5 separate regions of the Homo sapiens genome follow, and regions 2, 3, 4 and 5 are each linked to region 1. The links are contacts of gene promoters, found by promoter capture Hi-C in blood cells and fetal thymus (Javierre and others, 2016). All regions are on one chromosome and are shown on one strand. Each heading gives the region's core, a stretch centred on a gene start or on the middle of the fragment in contact. The rest is flanking DNA. Distances are from core to core; before and after follow the strand shown.

Region 1 (2,865 bases), core at 6-2,505:
TCTCATATACCAAGGGTGAGAAGAGCAAATGGAACACGAACTTGACTCTGAAAAATAGTTTGACAATTTCTCTGTATATTTATATACTGATACCTATATCACACACATAGATTCACACAGGCATTTCCTTTCTCTCATTCTTCTAATATAGGAAGTTTGGTTGGATTTATATTTACAGTTCAGCATTGCCATGACTTTGCACATACTATTCGCGGTTGGCACACGTAGTATAACGTGATCTCCTTCTTAACCTTTCTTTCTTTTGTTTTTTTTTTGAGATGGAGTTTTGCTCCTGTTGCCCAGGCTGGAGTGCAATGACGCCATCTTGGCCCACAGCAACCTCCGCCTCCCGGGTTCAAGCGATTCTCCTGCCTCAGCCTCCCGAGTAGCTGGGATTACAGGCATGCGCCACCATGCCTGGCTAATTTTGTATTTTTAGTAGAGACAGGGTTTCTCCATGTTGGTCAGGCTGGTCTCGAACTCCCGCTCTCAGGTGATCCGCCCACCTCGGCCTCCCAAAGTGCTGGGATTACAGGCGTGAGCCACCGCGCCCGGCCTCTTTCCCAACCTTTTTTTTCTCACTGAAGTGGTCCTGTTCCCTTAATTTCTGGCCACTTCTCCTGAGTCCAGCCCTCATATTTGGCTCCACCTGGGTCCCAGGCTCTCCCCTCCGCCTTGGGAACTATACTTTCTGGCTTTTACTGGCTTTTCCCCATGCCTTTCACCCAACATAATTTTGGCACGTTCCAACCGTTTTCATTACCTAGTCTGTGACTGCTACCCCTGTTCCGTCAGCGTAGCTAACAGCCCTCTTCTGCGTTCAAAAGGCGCTTCAAGCTACTTTGTTAGAAATCTGGCTTTGGCCGAAGTGTCCCCTCTCGGCCGGTTCTCCTTTTCCCTCACAAGGAACTGTTTCCTAACCTTTGTACAAAGTGTAAACGTCGCGGCCATCTTAGCCTTCTATTCAGCTGCTGAAAGGGATTTACCTCCACGCCATTTTTGTCTTGTGTAAACTGGAGCCTCTGTATATGGACCCGTATTTATGAAGGGTTGAGGTGCCAGGAAATGGGACAGTTTCAGTGCTCTTTCATCTTCCCGGCCATCCCCGGTCACCCCCGGTCACCCCCGGTCACCAGCGCCAAAACGCGCCCTTTGCCTTGTGTACGTCAGATACTCAAAGATGGCGGCCCCCATGGAGCCAAGGCGACGAGGGCGCGGCCATCTTGCATCTGCGCAAACGCTGGGAACGCCTCCGACCCTGGATAGTCGCCGTCAGGCACTGAGGAGGCCGAGAGATGAGGCCGGAGCCCACCAAGTTCTGGGAAGTAAGTTCAGTCACTGGGTGGTCGCTGTGGTGACGGGGGAGGAAATTCTGTCCGTGGCTGGGCGTGTTCGTGGACAGTGGTGATGGACTGGTATCTGTCGGCGCCAGCGTTTGGCGACGCCAGTGGAATTCTTTCAGGAGCTTAGCGTGGGTCCGATTCCTATCGCAGGGGAACTACAAGAGGTCCGTGATAGGGTGTGTGTGTGTGTGATCGGGGTACCTCTGGGACCAGTCACAGGGTCCTCGTGTAGTTTGTGGTTAAAGATCTCTAGAGATCCGCTACTGAGTGCCCAAGTCACATTCTGGTGTCTTTGGTGTTGTCCTTTGGCGGGGCTCAGTGATTGCGAACTGGAGGGTTTGTTTTGTCAGCGAATCGGTTTATGGTTCAGGTTTTGTTTGGGACTAAATGATTGAGGAACTGTCTTGGGGGTTAAGGTACGGAGGTTTCTGATCCAGGTTTTGGAATTAATCCCGGTGGCGGTGGTGGTAGCGCCACAGATTCCGATGTGGGCTGCAGCTCTGGAGGCCTGGGAACCATGGCAGGTGATGGGTTAGCCCCAGCCCTGGCTGCTGGAACAGAATTGATGCTCATTAGCATTCCCCTTCTGCCCAAGACCCTTCTCCACGACTGGTTTTTAAATCCCCTTTGGCACCTTCCATCACCCCTTGGTCTTGAATCCTCAGAAATGGAAGTTTTTGGCGAGATCAGTCATCTAGCATACCTAAAAGTAGTATGTTTTATATTTAAGATGCGGCTTCTACCCTTTGTCCTGCAAGTTTCCAGCGTATCCTCTTGGATATTTCTTTTCAGGTTCTTTCTGACACAAGTAAGATAACATCTCTGCCATGGTAAGCTCGGTTACTCAAAGATAACCTTTGTCAAATTTTCAGAATATTTCAATTTTAGACGTGTATGTTATGTGCTTAATATTCATAATTCAGATAAATTATGTAAATGGTACTATTATCTTTTTCGCTTTATATTATGTAATAAACATTTAGAAGTTGTTTTTACTGTTTGAGCCGGTGGTACTATAAGTGCATTCACATTAAGTTTATGCGTACATTTGGATAGAAGTGAAATGTTTTAAAATGTTTAGGTATTATTTTTAGGAACATTTTATGATTATCCATTTATCCATGAATTTTGTTTTTCCTGCCTTTAATCTTCAATCTAGACTATTACTTTTATTGCAGTGTATTGCTTTCTGACTCCCCTTTCCTTATAATCTATAACAAAAGATAAATTAATTTTAAATATTTATTTTATATTTGGTCATCTTAATTCTTAGTATTACAATATTTTTCTCTCTGCCTAACATATTATTTTGTGAAAATTTTTGAACCTATGGAAATATTGAAAGAAGTTTAATGTTAATACCAATATGCCTACCACCTAGCTTTTACCATTAACATTGTATTAGATCAGCTCTACTGGTTTTCTAAGTATTCATCCATTCCTCTGTTTGTGAATCATTCCTTATTTGTTGTCGATTTTGGTATATTTCAAAGTAAGTTACAGACATAAGTACCATTCCTCT
Region 2 (2,700 bases), core at 15-2,514, about 14 Mb after region 1:
TATATCATAGAGTATAGAGACCAATAATTTCAAAGAAAATAGGATATTACAGAGCAGAGGTTGGCAAACTTATTCTTAAGGAGTCAGAAAGTAAAGGCTTTGTGGGCCATATGGTCTCCGTCACAATGACTCAACTCTCCCGCCATACCATGAAAATATAGACAACATGTAAACGTAAGAATGTGGTTGTGTTCTAATAAAACTTTATTCACAAAGCAGGTGGCCAATCGGTAGGCCACAGTTTGCTGATCCCTGTTACAGAAGAAAGAAGGTTAAATGTTATACAGTACCTTGCTATCCAGCATGTGGGTCTTCAAGTGGCAATTTTGGCCTTACTTGGAGCTTGTTAGATGTGCAGAATCTAAGGCACCGCCCCAGACCTACTTAATCAGACTCTGCATTTCAACAAGATGCCCCGGTGATTCCAAACACCTTGGAGCTTAACAAGCACTGGTATAGCAGTCATCCAAGGGAATATCATGTTGGGCTAGTTAGTTACAATATAAACGGTAAAGCACTCTAAGGTGAAACAGATTAAAAAATAAAATCAACAAAGCTAACTAGGACTTAAGCAAGAGTTCTTAACTTGGCAGAAAACAGGGGGCTTGTGAACTTTGATAGAAAAGAAATTACATTTTTGTTTTCACTGAGTTCCAACTACAATTGAACATTTCCTTTGAATATGAATATAAGCAACAAAACACAGTGGTATTAGTGGTTCCTGTGACTTGATACTAGTTTGTGAATATTGTTATTTTCATGTCACATTATTATGTTTATAATCATCTCTTCTTTGAGATCATGACAGTTATTAGACCTGATGCTAGGCCTCATTAACGTATAAATGAAAAAGTACATCTACTATTATATTGCACATTTTGAAAATATTTTGAAGCTGGGCGCGGTGGCTCACGCCTGTAATCCCAGCATTTTGGGAGGCCGAGGCAGGTGGATCATCTGACGTCAGGAGTTCAAGACTAGCCTGACCAACATGATGAAACCCAGTCTCTACTAAAAATAGAAAATAAGCTGGGCGTGGTGGCACACACCTGTAGTCCCAGCTACTCGGGAGGCTGAGGCAGGAGAATCGCTTGAACCCAGGAGGAGGAGGCTGCAGTGAGCTGAGATCATGCCATTGCACTCCGGCCTGGGCGACAGAGTGAAACTCCATCTAAAAAAAAAAAAATTTTTTTTTGATAACTATTTTCTAGCTTATTTTGATAATTACTGTACTTTAGTCATTTATTTTATAATCTTATGAACGTTATTATATTTTTATACATAGAAGTGAGGTCTATAGCCTTCAAAAGAATGCCTAAGAAGTCCATGGCACAAAAATAATTAATAACCCCTCACTTAAAGACATTCAGTCATGAGATAATCTGGGTCTCATTTTAGGAGATATCAGTGGAAAATTAAAAGTGGGGCTGGGTGCAGTGGCTCACGCCAGTAATCCCAGCACTTTGGGAGGCTAAGGCGGGTGGATCACGAGGTCAGGAGATCAAGACCAGCCTGGCCAAGATGGTGAAACCCCATCTCTACTAAAAATACAAAAATTAGCTGGGGGTGGTGGCACGTGCCTGTAATCCCAGCTACTCCGGAGGCTGAGGCAGAGAATTGCTTAAACCCAGGAGGCGGAGGTTGCAGTGAGCTGAGATGGCACCACTGCATTCCAGCCTGGGTGACAGAACAAGACTTCATCTGAACAATAACAACAAAAAAAAGTGGAGAAGGACTGGGCATGGTGGCTCATGCCAGTAAATCCAGCACTTTGGGAAGCCAAAGCAGGTGGACTGCTTGAGCCCAGGAGTTTGAGACCAGCCTGAGCGGCACTGCAAAACCCCTTCTCTACAAAAAAAATGAAAATTAGCCAGGTGTGGTAGCACGTGAATATAATCCCAGTTACTCGGGAGGTTAAGAGGTGGGAGGATCGCTTGAGCCCAGGAGGTCAAGGCTGCAGTGAGCCATGATCATGCCACTGCACTCCAGCCTGGGTGACAGAGTGAGACACTGTCTCAAAAAGAAAAAAAAAAAGCAGAGAGGAAGATTTAAAGCCATTTCTCAGAAGAAAAAAAATCAACAAAACCACACATATGAATGGAACAGTTAGAGTGAGTGGTAAAGGCAGAAGATTCAAAATGACCACACGGTAGCAAAGCCCTGGAATAATAAGCAAGATGAAGTGGTGTGTGTGTGTGCGTGTGTGTGTGTGTGTGTGAGTGTGAGTGTGTGTGTGGCAGGGGTAGCAAGGACAAATAAAGATGATTTTAGTTTTTGACACACAAAGAACAGGGTAAGTGCACACCTGTAGTGTAATCCACAGACTGGTTAAATGCGGGGGTGGGCAGTGCAAGGGGGAAAAAAGGGCCCAACATGGCAAAAGGGCTGGTTGTGAGAATCATGTACTCTCAGAATGGGTGAGTTCTTTGAGAGGATTACACCACTGGAAAGAGAACCAAGTTATGGAAAACAGAAAATGCAATTGTTCCTTGGAAGGAAAATGCTGGGTTTGAGCCAGGGAAATAGATAGTAACAGAGTAGCTGGAAAAACGGGAGGCTGACTAGATACATTCTTGTGGAATTTGCAGTTACGAAATTTTCAGAAGAGGAGAAGAAAAGAAGAGGAGGGCAACTGATAACCGGGATACCACAGTCTCAGGACAGCTGAAGAGCACAGTTTAATGGAGGAACACACTCCAG
Region 3 (2,866 bases), core at 149-2,648, about 14 Mb after region 1:
AGCAGTAGCCGCTACAGCAAGCCTAGTCCAAGAGGCTGATAAGTTAACTCTGGGCCAAAATTTAACCCTTAAGGCTCCTCATGCCATAGAGACTTTACTTCAAAGTGCTTCTGGCGAATGGATGTCAAATGCTCGCATCTTGCAATATCAGAGTTTACTGTTAGATCAGTAAACTGACTTTCTCTTCCACACGGTGTTTAAATCCAGCTACTATCCATGACTGTCAGGAACTGTTGGAAACTACCGAAACTGGCCCATCCGATCTTCAAGATGTGCCCCTAGAGAAGGCGGACGCCACCGTGTTCACAGACGGTAGCAGCTTTCTCGAGCAGGGAGTACGAAAGGCCGGTGCAGCTGTTACCACGGAGACAGATGTGTTGTGGGCTCAGGCTTTACCAGCAAACACCTCAGCGCAAAAAGCTGAATTGATCGCCCTCACTCAGGCTCTCCGATGGGGTAAGGATATTAACGTTAACACTGACAGCAGGTACGCCTTTGCTACGGTGCATGTACATGGAGCCATCTGCCAGGAGCGCAGGCTACTCACCTCAGCAGAAAAGGCTATCAAAAACAAGAATCCCCCGTCTTCAAAGCCTAACAGATCAAGCAGCTCTCTGGGGAACAACCTGCGACCAGGTAAATGCCAAACAAGGTCCTAAACCCAGCCCAGGCCACCGTCTCCGAAGAAACTTGCCAGGAGAGAAGTGGGAAATTGACTTTACAAAAGTAAAACCACACCAGGCTGGGTACAAATACCTTCTAGTACTAGTAGACACCTTCTCTGGATGGACTGAGGCATTTGCTACCAAAAACGAAACCGCCAACTTGGTAGTTAAGTTTTTACTCAATGAAATCATCCCTCGATATGGGCTGCCTGCTGCCATAGGGTCTGATAATGGACCGGCCTTCACCTCGTCTATAGTTCTGTCGGTCAGTAAGGCGTTAAACATTCAATAGAAGCTCCATTGTGCCTATCGAGCCCAGAGCTCTGGGCAGGTAGAACGCATGAACCACACCCTAAAAAACACTCTTACAAAATTAATCTTAGAAACTTGTGTAAATTGGGTAAGTCTCCTTCCTTTAGCCCTACTTAGAGTAAGGTGCACCCCTTACTAGGCTAGGTTCTCACCTTTTGAAATCATGTATGGGAGGGCGCCGCCTATCTTGCCTAAGCTAAGAGATGCCCAATTGGCAGAAATATCACAAAAGAATTTATTACAGTACCTACAGTCTCCCCAACAGGTACAAGATATCATCCTGCCACTTGTTCAAGGAACCCATCCGAATCCAATTCCTGACCAGACAGGGTCCTGCCATTCGTTCCAGCCAGGAGACCTAGTGTTTGTTAAAAAGTTCCAGAAAGAAGCACTCACTCCTGCTTAGAAAAGACCTCACACCATCATCCTCACAACGCCAATGGCTCTGAAGGTGGACGGCATTCCTGCTTAGATTCATCACTCCCGCATCAAAAAGGCCAACAGAGCCCAACTAGAAACATGGGTCCCCAGGCCTGGGTCAGGCCCCTTTAAAACTGCACCTAAGTCAGGTGAAGCCATTAGATTAATTCTTTTTATCTACCTCACTTGTTTGTTTTTGCCTGTTATGTCCTTTGCGCCTTCCTACTCCTTTCTCCTCACCTCTTTCACAACAGGATGTGTATTTGCAAACACCACTTGGAGGGCCAGTACCTCCAAGGAAGTCTCCTTTGCAGTTGATTTATGTGTACTGTTCCCAGAGCCAGCCCGTACCCGCGAAGAGCAACACAATCTGCCGGTCCCAAAAGCAGGAAGTGTCAACCTTGCAGCAGGATTTGGACACTCCAGGAGCCAAACTGGATGTGGAAGCTCCAAAGGTGCAGAAAAAGGACTCCAAAATGTTGACTTTTACCTCTGTCCTGGGAATCACCCTGACACTAGCTGTCGAGATACTTACCAGTTTTTCTGCCCTGATTGGACATGTGTAACTTTAGCCACCTACTCTGGGGGATCAACCAGATCTTCATTCCATAACTCGTGCTTCTCGTCCTAAATTATGTACTAGAAAAAATTGTAATCCTCTTACTATAACTGTCCATGACCCTAATTCAACTCAGTAGTATTATGGCATGTCATGGGAATTAAGATTTTATATCCCAGGATTTGATGTTGGGACTATGTTCACCATCCAAAAAATCCTGGTCTCATGGAGCCCACCCAAGCCAATCGGGCCTTTAACTGATCTAGGTGACCCTATGTTCCAGAAACCCCCTAACAAAGTTGATTTAACTGTTCCTCCACCATTCTTAGTCATAAAAGATACACTCCAAAAGTTCGAGAAAATCTAGATAGGCGCCAACAGGAACGAGAAAACAACATCCCCTGGTATCAAAGCATGTTCAACTGGAACCCCTGGCTAACTACTTTAATCACTGGGTTAGCTGGACCTCTCCTCATCATACTATTAAGTTTAATTTTTGGGCCTTGTATATAAAATTGGTTTCTTAATTTTGTAAAAGAATGCATAGCTTCTGTCAAACTTATGTATCTTAATACTCAATATAACCCCCTTGTTATAATTGAGGAATCAACGATTTGATTCCCCAAAAACACAAGTGGGGAATGTAATGCCCAACCTTGTTTTTACTAACCCTGTTTTTAGACTCTCCCTTTTCCTTTAATTACCCAGCCTTGTTTCCACCTGAATTGACTCTCCCTTAGCTAAGAGAGCCAGACAGACTCCATCTTGGCTCTTTCACTGGCAGCCGCTTCCTCAAGGACTTAACTTGTGCAAGCTGACTCCCAGCACATCCAAGAATGCAATTAACTGATAAGATACTGTGGCAAGCTATATCTGCAATTCCCAGGAATTCATCTGATTGATAACGCCC
Region 4 (2,787 bases), core at 112-2,611, about 14 Mb after region 1:
TGATCTATCTTGACTATCAATGTCAACATCCTGGTTGTCATATTATACTACAGTCCTGCAAGATGTTGTCATTGGAGAAGACTAAGTTGAAGATAACACACAATGTCTCTATTATTTCTTACAACCTCATATGAATCTACAATCATCTCAAATTTAAAAAAAAATTTAAGGAAGTTTTAAGAATTTCATTTTCAAATATTTGCTAGATGAATTAAGTTTTTACCCCCTTCAAATCTTGAAGGCAAATTAATGCTCCAGGTTGTACTGTTCAATAGGAAGACTATTAGCCATATATAGCTGTTTACATTTAGATTTATTAAAATTGAACACAATTTAAAAAATTCGTTCCTCAGTCAAACCAGCCACATTTCAATTTCTCAATAGCCATATGTAGCTAGTGGCTACTATATTGGAGAGCACAGATATAAAAAATGGAACTCAGTTTTGCAGAAATTCCTATTAAAAAGCATTGTTCCAAAGCGTTACACGACTGACACCCTCACTTTACAGGTGAGAAAACTGAAGCCAGGAGATATCACTATAATACAGCGCTGCACACAATCGTGCTCATTCTCACCATATTATGCTCACACACTTCTTTCCCCACATTCACTGCCACAGGCGAACTCTCAATGAATCATTCACTACATTTATATAATTTCATGGGAATCTATTTTAAATTCATGACCATGCAAAGAAAAATCAATTTCTTACAGGTTATAAGATACTCAGTCGCAGGCTGAATCTGATTAAACAGACATCAGTCACCCTCAAAGCTATAATCAAACCATTCCCAAGACCCTTCCGCACACAATACTAAATGCGCCACTAATAGCCTCAAGCATAATCTGACGCACATCACACAGGCATGGCCACTACCCACTCTGCACCCACAGAGGACACTCGGACACGCGCGCGCACAGACCCACACACACACGCACACACACACACATGGCCGCAAAGAATGCGTCACACTTCCGAACCCCGTTGAGCAGCAACCCGGTATCGTGGCCACTGCGTCACGGCCAGAGCTGTCAGAGAGAAATCCAGACCTTACCTGACAGCCTTTTGCAGCTCTTCTAGCCCGGGATGACATTCCCCTGAAGGCACCACGGCAAGACTCAACCTCTTTGTGTGAGATTCTCTGGAATTTCTGGGGCGTTACTTGAGTATAATGAAATAGGGTAGGCTCGGACCATAGTAGGGTAAGTCCCACAGTTCGAGCAAGGGAGCCTCAGGGATCGTTCTGTTCTGGAGCGCCGGACCCGATCTTAGCTGCTGGGCCTGCGCAGACACGATCCGGCCGGTTTCCAGTTGTAGACTACATTTCCCGAAGGCCCCCGCGTCGCTGCGCAACGTCGTACACTTACGCTGTTATGTCTTGACGCACGGAGCTTGTCTGCGCCGGCCAGGTGAGTGGGCGGCCTCACCGGGAACCGCTCGCAGCTTTTGGGTTGCTTCATCGAAAAAGTAGTTCTTGTATGGTGCTGGGAATACCGGTGTCCTGGCTGGGGCTCGGTGCTGACAGGAACGGGACGGTGCTCTGGCTAATTACTTATGGAAGTCGGCCTTGCGCTTGCGGAGGGGTGTCGGCACCGTCACTTTGGTTCTGGCAGTGGCGGGGGTGTGGTGCTGCTAGTTGTGTTCCTCCGCACCGAATTTATGAGTGTGCCCCTGGAGCCCCTGCCGCGGACAAAATCGGCACCATAACTTTGGGATAGGGAGGCTAGAAGGAGGCGGGTGTTACTAGTAGTGTTCCTCCGCCCTGGACGTGTGCGTGTGCGCTTGTGCGGCCGCGGGGTGGGCTCACCTGCCGCCTGTTAATGCTCCTAGCGCTTGGCCCCTCCCGGGCCGCAGTACTCCTCGTGTGACACGGACATCATTAAGCCAGCTGAGAATCGTGCGGTTACAGCTGCTGCAGTTTCTTTGCAGAGTAAGAGGCTCTTTTTGAAGTTTCCCTGATGGTGAGGCTTTACCCCTGGAAGTGTCTTAGGAAGAAGACCACTGTTAAAGATGTCCTATTCTAGCTTGACAGCCCTGTGGGGAAGACTAATCCCTTTCTAGAGGTTGGTGTTATCCTAAATTGTTTCGTCTGCTCCGAGAGCTCTGATGTTCTATGATGCTTATTTCTTTTCTCGGTTCTGCGTTTTCCAAGAGAGGCACCCAGAGGAAAAGAATATCGCACTTCTGAAAGTCTTGTGTGAAGTTCCTGTTTTCTTTCTAACCTCAAATTTCTTCCTTTCCGAAACGTTTTCTACCTCCAGCAACATCTTCCTAAGGAAGAACCAGCCATGCTAGTGACTGGTCCTTAGGCACCCCATAAATGATGCTGCGGGGATGGGATCATCAGTTTAGCTCTACTCCCCAGCCACACTACACCTCTCCTTTCCACCCAATGATACAGCAGTCCTTTCTGGTCTAAGATTTTTTTGTTTGTTTGTTTGCTTTTTGAGACGGATTCTCGCTGTGTCGCCCTGGCTGGAGTGCGGTGGTGCGGTCTCGGCTCACTGCAAGCTCCGCCTTCCGGGTTCACGCCATTCTCCTGCCTAAGCCTCCCGAGTAGCTGGGACTACAGGCGCCCGCCACCATGCCCGGCTAATTTTTTGTGTTTTTAGTAGAGACGAGGTTTCACCGTGTTAGCCAGGATGGTCTCGATCTCCTGACCTCGTGATCCACCCGCCTGGGCCTCCCAGAGTGCTGGGATTACAGGCGTGAGCCACCGCGCCTGGCCTGGTCTAAGGTTTTGATGAAAAATAACTGTACTTTCTGGGGGAAATTTGAAGAGTT
Region 5 (2,811 bases), core at 209-2,708, about 15 Mb after region 1:
GACAGAGTCTCTCTTTGTCGCCCAGGCTGGAGTGTAATGACGTGATCTTGGCTCACTGCAACCTCCATCTCCCCAGTTCAAGTGATTCTCCTGTCTCAGTCTCCCAAGTAGCTGGGATTACAGGCACATGCCACCAATCCCGGCTAATTTTTGTATTTTTAGTAGAGACGGGGTTTCACCATGTTGTCCAGGCTTGTCTCGAACTCCTGACCTCAGGTGATCCACCCGCCTCGGCCTCCCAAAGTGCTGGGATTACAGGCGTGAAGGGCTCCACTTCTTAATCTAACACATTGGCGATTAAGTTTCACTATATAAATTTTGGGGAACACATTCAGAACATAACCAAGGACAAAAGAACAAGTGTTTTTGTTTTGTTTTTTGTTTTGTTTTTTTTCCCAAGACAAAGTCTTACTGTATTGCCCAGGCTGGAGTGCAGTGGCGCAATCTCGGCTCACTGCAACCACTGCCTCCCGGGTTCAAGCAATTCTGCCTCAGCCTCCCGAGTAGCTGGGATTACAGATGTGCGCCACCACACCCGGCTAATTTTTGTATTTTTAGTAAAGACAGGGTTTCACCATGTTGGCCAGGCTGGTCTTGAACTCCTAACCTCATGATCTGCCTGCCTTGGCCTCTCAAAGTGCTGGGATTACAGGTGTGAGCCACCGCACTTGGCTAAGAACAAGTGTTTTAACAGAAAATACTCTGTTTAGGAAACTACAAGGGTTTTAGGACCCATGAACCAAGAACCATGGGCATGGATAAAGACCAAAATACATATTTCTTATTACATCACAATATCAGAGAGGTATAGACTCAGGATTGGTTGGTTTGCATATGTAAGCTGTGCTCATTGGAAAACTGTGATTATCTTTAGGAATTAGCCCTGAGAGGAGCAGCCTCTCCCTGTTTTTGGTAAGGTCCCCAAATGCCAGAGCATCAAGAATACAGAAAATAAGAAAATATAGTTAATATAATTGGCCTCTTGATGAACGAGTGCCAAATAGACTAATAGAGAATCTAAGGAAATGCAGTTAGAACACAGAGGCTATGTAAGTATTTACCTTCCACAAATGGTGAACTAATTTTTATTCCAACCAGAAATGTATGAAAGTTCCTATTTCCTGTTCCTGTCAACCATTGTATTTCTTCATTCAGCAGATATTCATTGAGCTCTTTTTTTTTTTGAGACGGAGTCTCGCTCTGTCGCCCAGGCTGGAGTGCAGTGGCACTGTCTCGGCTCACTGCAACCTCCGCTTCCCGGGTTCAAGAATTCTTCTGCCTCAGCCTCCCGAGTAGCTGGGACTGCAGGCGCCTGCCACCATGCCCGGCTAATTTTTGTATTTTTAGTAGAGACAGGGTTTCACTGTGTTAGCCAGGATGGTCTCGATCTCCTGACCTCGTGATCTTGTGATCTGCCCGCATCGTCCTCCCAAAGTGCTGGGACTACAGGCGTGAGCCACTGCGCCTGGCCTCATTGAGCTCCTTATCTGTGCCAGGTGCTATTCTAGGCACTAGGAAAATATCAGTGAACAGAACAGCCAAGATTTCCTGTCCTCACAGAGTATACCATTCTAGTTGGGGAAGTGGACAATGAATGTGTAAATGAAATATATCATATTCCAGATAAAGATAAGATTGGGGCCAGGTGTGGTGGCTCATGCCTGTAATCCAAGCACTTTGGGAGGCCAAGATGGGCGTATCACCTGAGGTCAGGAGTTCGAGATCATCCTGGCCAACATGGTGAAACGCCGTCTCTGATAAAAATACAAAAATTAGCCAAGTGTGGTGGTGCATTCCTGTAATCCCAGCTACTGGGTAGGCTGAGGCAGGAGAATCGCTTGAACCCGGGAGGCAGAGGTTGCAGTGAGCCGAGATCATGCCATTGCACTCCAGCCTGGGCAACAAGAGTGAAACTCCGTCTCCCACCACCCCCCTCAAAAAAAAAAAAAGAATCTAGGTTCTTTATAAATCTTTGTGCTGTCATATTGCACTGTCATTTTCTGCAAAGCCAAAGGTGGATCCATTTTTTCTGTCAATTTGTTGTACATGTTTTTAAAAATCTTTTAGTGATTACCTGAAAGATTACAGCATTCCTCTTTCTTTTAGTCTAGGACAAATTATTGACTTTACCATTTCCCCAATACTGCTAGAGGACCTTGGGACACTTTAACTCCATTTACCTCCATCCTCATTTTTGCTTTATTTTTGTTATTTAATTCTGCATACATTCAAAACCCCAGAGGGCAGTATATTACTTTGTGCAGTCAATATTCATTTATATTCACATACTTACTCTTTCTATTGCTATTCTTTCCCTACTAATTTTTTTTTTTTTTGGAAACAGGGACTCTGTCACCCAGGTTGAGTGCAGTGGCATGATCATGGCTCACTGCAGCCTCGACCTCCCAGGCTCAAGTGATCCTCCTACCTCAGCCTCCTGAGTAGCTGGAACCGCAGGTGTGCGCCACCACGCCCAGCTAATTTTTGATTTTTTGTAGAGGCAAAGTCTTGCTATATTGCTCAGGCTGGTCTTGAACTCCTAGATGCAAATGAACCTCCACCTTGGCCTCCCAGATTGCTGGGATTACTAGTATTAGCCACTGTGCCTGGCCTAAATTTCTTTCTGTTTCATCTGAGATCTTGTTCTTCTCGAAAAACTCCATTTAGTATTTCTTTTTTTTTTTTTTTTTTTTTTTTTTTGAGACGGAGTCTCGCTCTGTCGCCCAGGCTGGAGTGCAGTGGCGGGATCTCAGCTCACTGCAAGCTCCGCCTCCCGGGTTCACGCCATTCTCCTGCCTCAGCCTCCCAAGT

Evidence for each region. The method cuts DNA at HindIII sites, captures the fragments that hold promoters and counts their contacts. A CHiCAGO score of 5 or more calls a contact.
Region 2: a contact is called between a fragment that was not itself captured here and the fragment with the promoter of ZNF615 in region 1, in 1 of 17 cell types (non-activated CD4 T cells). The highest score is 5.2, in non-activated CD4 T cells.
Region 3: a fragment that was not itself captured here is called in contact with the fragment with the promoter of ZNF615 in region 1 in 1 of 17 cell types (non-activated CD4 T cells); the score reaches 5.2 in non-activated CD4 T cells.
Region 4: the fragment with the promoter of ZNF571 here is called in contact with the fragment with the promoter of ZNF615 in region 1 in 1 of 17 cell types (total CD4 T cells); the score reaches 5.6 in total CD4 T cells.
Region 5: a fragment that was not itself captured here is called in contact with the fragment with the promoter of ZNF615 in region 1 in 2 of 17 cell types (naive CD4 T cells and non-activated CD4 T cells); the score reaches 7.5 in naive CD4 T cells.

The regions. Positions count from the first base shown.
Region 1 is chr19:52,006,601-52,009,465 of GRCh38, reverse strand. ZNF615 (zinc finger protein 615) reads left to right here and starts at 1,255. Exons shown (of 7, transcript NM_001199324.2): 1 at 1,255-1,325; 2 at 2,136-2,173. It overlaps LOC124904755 (a long non-coding RNA gene), which reads right to left and starts at 1,168. Exons shown (of 2, transcript XR_007067321.1): 1 at 987-1,168. RefSeq lists enhancers at 745-824, 885-1,494. The HindIII fragment of the contact is 6,775 bases long and covers 1-2,865 here.
Region 2 is chr19:37,534,017-37,536,716 of GRCh38, reverse strand. All of the region lies in intron 7 of ZNF793 (zinc finger protein 793), which reads right to left. LOC124904708 reads left to right here. Exons shown (of 2, transcript XR_007067248.1): 2 at 2,589-2,700. Among named protein-coding and RNA genes, the nearest start is that of ZNF571-AS1, 14 kb to the left of the region's middle. The HindIII fragment of the contact is 3,580 bases long and covers 1-2,700 here.
Region 3 is chr19:37,555,031-37,557,896 of GRCh38, reverse strand. The region is part of intron 2 of ZNF571-AS1 (ZNF571 antisense RNA 1); the gene reads right to left. It also overlaps a transcript of ZNF540 not described here. Among named protein-coding and RNA genes, the nearest start is that of ZNF571-AS1, 7.5 kb to the right of the region's middle. The HindIII fragment of the contact is 8,397 bases long and covers 1-2,866 here.
Region 4 is chr19:37,593,366-37,596,152 of GRCh38, reverse strand. It overlaps ZNF571 (zinc finger protein 571), which reads left to right and starts at 1,361. Exons shown (of 4, transcript NM_016536.5): 1 at 1,361-1,412. It overlaps ZNF540 (zinc finger protein 540), which reads right to left and starts at 1,277. Exons shown (of 5, transcript NM_001172225.3): 1 at 1,058-1,277. RefSeq lists enhancers at 800-849, 1,080-1,199, 1,240-1,439, 1,036-1,718, 1,670-1,719 and 2 more. The HindIII fragment of the contact is 14,201 bases long and covers 1-2,787 here.
Region 5 is chr19:36,844,937-36,847,747 of GRCh38, reverse strand. It overlaps a transcript of ZNF790 not described here. Among named protein-coding and RNA genes, the nearest start is that of ZNF345, 4.5 kb to the left of the region's middle. The HindIII fragment of the contact is 5,910 bases long and covers 1-2,811 here.